2 separate regions of the Homo sapiens genome follow, and region 1 is linked to region 2. Evidence: promoter capture Hi-C in human tissues and cell types (Jung and others, 2019). All regions are on one chromosome and are shown on one strand. The core of a region is centred on a gene start or on the middle of the fragment in contact, and the rest is flanking DNA. Distances in the headings are between cores, read along the strand shown.

The links. Contacts are between HindIII fragments. The study calls those that stand out against the background at their distance.
Region 1: a contact is called between a fragment that was not itself captured here and the fragment with the promoter of HAS2 in region 2, in 1 of the 25 tissues and cell types used here (mesendoderm cells).

What each region holds. Positions count from the first base shown.
Region 1 is chr8:121,903,898-121,907,069 of GRCh38, reverse strand. No RefSeq gene overlaps it. Among named protein-coding and RNA genes, the nearest start is that of LINC02855, 210 kb to the right of the region's middle. The HindIII fragment of the contact is 3,794 bases long and covers 1-3,172 here.
Region 2 is chr8:121,639,816-121,643,125 of GRCh38, reverse strand. It overlaps HAS2 (hyaluronan synthase 2), which reads left to right and starts at 1,686. Exons shown (of 4, transcript NM_005328.3): 1 at 1,686-2,273. It also overlaps HAS2-AS1. RefSeq lists enhancers at 404-1,027, 3,229-3,310. The HindIII fragment of the contact is 13,134 bases long and covers 1-3,310 here.

The DNA of each region.
Region 1 (3,172 bases), core at 147-2,646, 260 kb before region 2:
AGGTGTGTACTAGGAATTAGGTAGAAAAAATGATTAATAATTCAATTATCTGTGTGAGGATAAAAACTTTTACAAAGAGTTATATTTAAGAATGATCCTGCAAAGTAAGTAAACTGGGGTAAATAGAGGAAAGAAACATTAGTCTTTAGTTCAAAAGTCACTGAAATACCTCTACTGAACACTCTATCTCAAACTGCACCCTACACTCACCTTGCCTAGTGATATGGTTCGTCTGTGTCCCCGCCCAAATCTCACCTTGAATTGTAATAATCCCCACATGTCAAGGGCAGGGCCAGGTGGAGATAATTGAATCATGGGGGTGGTTTCCCCCATACTGGTCTTGTGACAGTGAATAAGTCTCACGAGATCTGATAGTTTTATAAATGGGAGTTCCCCTGCACAAACCCTCTTGGCTGCCACCATATAAGACGTGATTTTCTTCCCCTTTGCCTTCCACCGTGATTGTGAGGCCTTCCCAGCCATGTGAAACTGTGAGTTCATAAACCTCTTTCCTTTATAAATTACCCAGTCTCAGGTATGCCTTTCTTAGCAGCACGAGAACAGACTCATACACCTAGTCACTCTCTATTCTATTGCTCTGAGTGTTCATTACTTTTTACCTCTATATATTCACTAAAATATAAGCTTCATAAAAGCAACAATTTGTTCCACCTTGTTTATCACTATAATCCTACAGCCTAAAACAGTACCTGCCATATAGCACATAATAAACATAGGTACTTTATAAATATTTGTTTAGTGAATGGTTGAATACCCTAAAGTTTCCTATATTCATGCACACTTCTTTGATTTTAATTATTTGGCAAAAGAGAATAGCCAATAAGATATCGGAACACTTCTAAATCTAGCTAAGTTTTGTTTCTGTATGTTGAGCTTTCAAAACCCTATGGTAGTTTTATTTACAGTTATTAAACACACACACACACACACACACACACACACACACACACGGAAAATTGGAGCAATCTAGAAAGTCAAACCTGGAATTTAAAAAAAATTACTCTATAACCATTTTCAGAAAAGCAGAAAAATATATGATCAGAATAAAAAGATACATCTGGCCACCATATTAAAAACGCAACATCTTGACAACAGCTAATTTAATTGGAAATTGTGCAGAAATTTTCTCACAGAGCTCACAAATCTTAGCAGTCGTGCTGATAATCTTTCCAGGAACTTAGAAGCAATCCTGATACTTTTGGTGTAAGTTACTTCTTTTAATCATGTAAATTTTTTAGGTGAAAGTTATATTTTGTAATCATGAATAAGAGGACCCAAAGGGATCTTCTCAGTTCCAGGCAACTCTCCAGTCACAAGAATGGGACAAAGATTTCCCAACACTAGCTTGCCTATGGCATTAAACTTTATCTGGCATAATTTTCTCCATCACAATTTTGAAGCTGAAAGGGACCTTGGTAGTCTCTGTGGCAGAAATGGATGCATACCAAATAGTCACTTTCCACCTTCTCCTTGCAAACAGAACCTCTTTTTGTTTTGGGGCAAAAATGTGCCCAGGTCTCTATTTGTTTTCGCATTTCCTTTTTCAGCTAGAGGTTGCCATATGACATATTTCTGGTGGCGATATGTAAGACAAAATCTAATTTTTTAAAAAAAATTCCTGATATAAGAAACTAGCATAGCAGGCAGCTGAATTGAATGTAGGTGCAAAGTGTGGAGCCGTAGCTGCCACTTTATGACCATGAGGTGACAAGCAAACAGCTAGGAATAGTGAGTATCATAGAGCCACCGGCCATGCGTTAGATTACTCATCTCCAAACCACTTATGTAAGAAACATAAGCCTATATTTAAGTTATTATTAGCTAGGCTTCTGCCACTTACAACAAAAAGTATTGGTGTTATAGTTATTACTTCTAATGCCTTTATTTATTTAGGAGAAAAAAACAACTGAGGCTCAATAAGAACAAAAAATTTGGCTGGAGTCATTGATATTTTCGGTAAGAAACACATTACAAGAGACTGTTCCTCTTCCCGATACTCACAAGCACAACCTATGGACATTGAGTAAGATTAGGGGTCTGTTTCATCTGCCTCTTCAAGGCAAGGAAACATTGAGCATGGCAAAATGCTTACAGTAGAAAATGTCCGAATTGTTGATGATTACAAAGATGAGTGCTAGATGTTAATACACTGAAATATTTGTATATAATATTAATCTTTTAAAAATATTTTATGTAACATATTGAAGCCAAATTACTATCATCCACAATAAAATATGTGTACATTATTGGATCAAAACATCTGGATGACAAGTCAAAGATTCTGTTATTCATTAAGCTGTTCTTTATTCTCATTTCTAATTATCCAACTATCTACATGCTTTGACATCATGAAAATTCCATCGAGTTAAGTGTCGAGTTAAGGAGGAATTTGTGATTTGAGTAATACAATTACTGTGATTTGAGACCTCCAATCTTTACTTTTCTCTCATGGGTTTTTTCTTTTAATAAAGGATTCTAGAAGACTCCAGATTGACTCTATGCCATCTGTGTTTTGTTTCAGTCTTCAGTTATTAATTTATGCTAAATTAAAGTTGACAACTTCGTATATAACTTCTTACAAAGAAGGTTTTTCTCTGACTTACTAATGCTAACACCCAGTCCCAGGCATTGCTCTCTCTTTACCACATTTCCATGCAAATAACTGACAAACAAATAAATACTCTTAGTAAGGCATTTGGTATCTTCATCTTCTTTCATGAAAATGCAATTCTGAGATTTCCAATTATACATATGCACCATATGTGAACCATGACGTCAATGAACAGGAACTTTAATATGGTTTTGCAGTCACGGACCATGTATTGTATCCCTTTTATGATAGTATTTTCTTTATCATTCACTGTTGCAAGGCAGCTGATGCAAGTGCCTGAGTGCCCCCACTTCTTGGCATGTTCTTTCTCTTTCTGTGCCATTTTCACGTTCCCAATCCAATGGAAGATCTAAAAATGGCTGCAGAGGAAAAATAAGACTTTCTGTTTCACCTCCAAAATGTGAATGCAAATACATGGCACATGTGTCACCATGGGGGACAGTAAGGGTCAGTTATGGCACTCTTTCTGACTTAAATTTGGCCTTGAATTCTTCTCAACACATTGCAATTCAGTCCATTCAAATTGGCACTCAGGACAAT
Region 2 (3,310 bases), core at 437-2,936:
ATATTTAAAATTATAGTTTAGCATTTGAAAACTACCAAAAAACTGAATCAGGAAGCTCGAGTCTGATTAAGTGGGATGAAATTGTGATCTGAAATTTAAGCCAGTCTCTCCAAGAGTTGAACCACCTAAGGCGGAGTTCAAACAAAGGCTGAAGCAGGAAGGTTTGCTGGGGGAAATCAGTGGGGTCCCCTGAGCAGCGTGAAGTCATCAGGCCAAGGTAATGCTTCCCAGAGGTGTAACCGCTGTGTGTGTGTGTGGCGTGGCGGGGGGGGGCGGGGGGAAGGGGGCGGAAACGCGCAGTACTTTGCAGGTCAGCCCCTGGGGACTGGGATGGCTGACTACCTGGTATTGCACTAAAATGCTTGACCCCTAATCACATCCCCCAACACTACACCTTGTGCGACGTGATGAAAGCATCATTTCCAGTTTATTCGACTTTTCTGTTTAGACTTATTCATTATAGCCCATATATGTGATAAGGACTAAGAACCCAGTCTTCAAGGTCCTGTCGAGTTCCAAAGAAGTCCACCCCTCAGAAGATCCTTGGAAGGGGAAGAAGGAAAAAAGAAAGAAAGAAAAATCTGTTTTACCCTATAACAATTTCAGCGCAATCTCCCAAGACCAAGTTGGTTAATTTGTAAAGTCACTCTCATTTTTTCCTCAACAGTGCCACCTACTGTCCATTTTCAGTCATCAGCAGGCTTGTTGGCAAGGTCCAAGAGAAAGAAAGGAGGCGGAGTGGTGGGGGGAGGAGTAACCAAAAAACGAACTCTACCCAGCCTTGGGGCATTGTGAAAACGACGAGGAAAGGCCATCTCCAAGCAAGACATATTTGTCCTCGTCAACTTTGCAGAAGGCTTGCAAAAAGCAAAAGCCAGTTAAGCCATTTCCTTCAAGATGGCTAAATATAAGTCCTCCAGAAAACAATTTTTATTATTTTATTTTTAATGCGCGCTGTTTGAGTATGTTTACGTTAGGGGACCAGATTGAGCAAAAATATACATATAATTACTTTTCTATGTTTTCCGCCCACCCACGGCAGAAACCTCTTTATGAGAAAGGCTTTGACACTTGACGTCAGCTCAGAAACTTTTGAGTTGGCGGGAAGAAAGGGTTAACAAGTGGTGGACCAGCGCGATCTTTTTAGAGTCCCAGCCGGCTGTCGAAGGCTCCAGGTACACACACACACGCACACACTTACACACACACACACACACGTGCACACACCCCTCCCAACTGTTCCTCCTTGGGTCGGTTACTTAGCTGAAGGGCACCATTTGGCTTTAAAACAAATTACTTCAGCGCCACAGGGAGTTTATCGCTTGGAGGGAACTTGTAACGCGGGAGTTCAGGGAAATCCAAGAGGCGAGGGCTCCCACCTCCGCCGCCAGAGGAAAGTAAGGAATCAGGTGGTGGCCCCCTATGTGTCTTGCATTTCTCTGCACACGTTAGCAATCAAGTTAATTGAATTCATTGGAGTTTAGAACCGGCCTGTAGCTCAGAGAAGGCTTTGAATGGCCAATTTCTCTCTCTCCCTCTCCCCCTCCCCGCCTCCCGCTCGCCCGCCCGCCCGCGCTCCCAGTTCCCTCCCCTCAGGGTTCCCCAGTCCACACCTCCCTCTCCACTTCCCTCACCCCCCCACTCCCTCCGCCGCCCTATTAAAACACCCACCAGCTCACTTGTTAAGACCCCCTTAAGTTGGAGGAGGCAGAAGGGCAACAACGGCGGGGAAGGAGAAGTCAAGACGTCTGGAAAGAATTACCCAGTCCTGGCTTCGAGCAGCCCATTGAACCAGAGACTTGAAACAGCCCCAGCCAAAGACTTTTCTCCCAATTCTGCGCTTCCTGGGTTCTGCTGAGTCTTCCACAGGCTTTTTTTTTTTTTTTTTTTTTTTTTAAGACGAAAAAGAGATTTTCTGTTATCGGGGGCAGAAAGACTGAAGCCCAAAAAAAAAAAAAAAAAAAAAAGAAAAGAAAAGAAAAAAGAAAAGTTAATTTATTTTTAAAGCATAATTTTTTTAAGAATTAGACTGAAGTGCAACGGAAACATAAAGAGAATATTAGTGAAATTATTTTTTAAAGTGGGGAAGAATCAAACATTTAAGACTCCCCTATCCTTTTTAAATGTTGTTTTTAAATTTCTTATTTTTTTTGGCCGGTCGTCTCAAATTCATCTGATCTCTTATTACCTCAATTTTGGAAACTGCCCGCCACCGACCCTCCGGGACCACACAGACAGGCTGAGGACGACTTTATGACCAAGAGCTGAACAAGGTACGTTACACTGGCGCGTTTTGGTGAAGGATGAAGGTCCTCCAACAGGCCAGGGAGAAGGAAGACATCCTTATAATTGTTTTAAAATTTTTAAGCCAGTTTCGATAGAAAAGTTGGAAGTTTAAAAATTTCCAACAGACTGAAGATCAGGGAATATTTCAGGTCACTGTCAGGCTTAGCAACATAGCCCTCTTTTCCCATTTCTGCGGCTCTCGCCAGAAATCCGCTGCCTTTCTGGGGACACAGGTAGCCTCTCTGCCTGGGAAAGGCTGCACGTCCTCAGATGTACTTTTCCATTTTGCATCTTCCGGAGCAGCAGAGGGGCTCCAGAGTTAGGAAACAAGAATTCCCAATGTAAGGAAAATGCATTCTGCACAGCCGCCCCACCCCTTCCCTTCTTTTTTTCCCACACACACACACACACACACACACTGTGGGGAGAAAAACTGGAATAGCCCAGCGCGTTTTACTTCTAAGTGAAAAAGTCGCTTCTTGCTGGGAATGCAAAGGGTTAAGCAATCTGGGCTTCCAGCTCCGACAAGCTGGGACCCTGGAGAAGGAGGGTCCTTCTCTACCTCCTCGCAGCTACCATCCCCTCTCGGCCACTCCCCCCTTTCCCGGGCCTCCCCTCCTTTGCACTTCCCGCACCCCATTAAAGTGTCAGGCTCGTCAGTCTGGGCTTACTCGGGCCAGGGGTCCCTGACGCAGGCGGTGGCACCCGCAGATAGGAGCGGGAGGAGGGCGCGCATCCCTCCTCTCCTCGCCGGGCCAGCCCGCCGGCCGCCCGGAGGCAGGGCGTGCGTGGGGACCGCGCGCTGCGCTTCGGCAGCTGCGGCGTCCCCAGAGCCAATTCCGACGTGGCACCGCGCACGCCGGCGCTTCTCTCCTCAGCTGCAGCTGGGGACACTGCCCGGTGGGAGATCTGGGGGCGCCGTCTCGAGCGCCCAGCCGATGAACGGGGCGAGGGGCCTGTGGGAGCTGGGGTGGAGGTGGGAGGGAAGCCAGAGGCTGGGTTGGGATGGATAATCAACACCTTG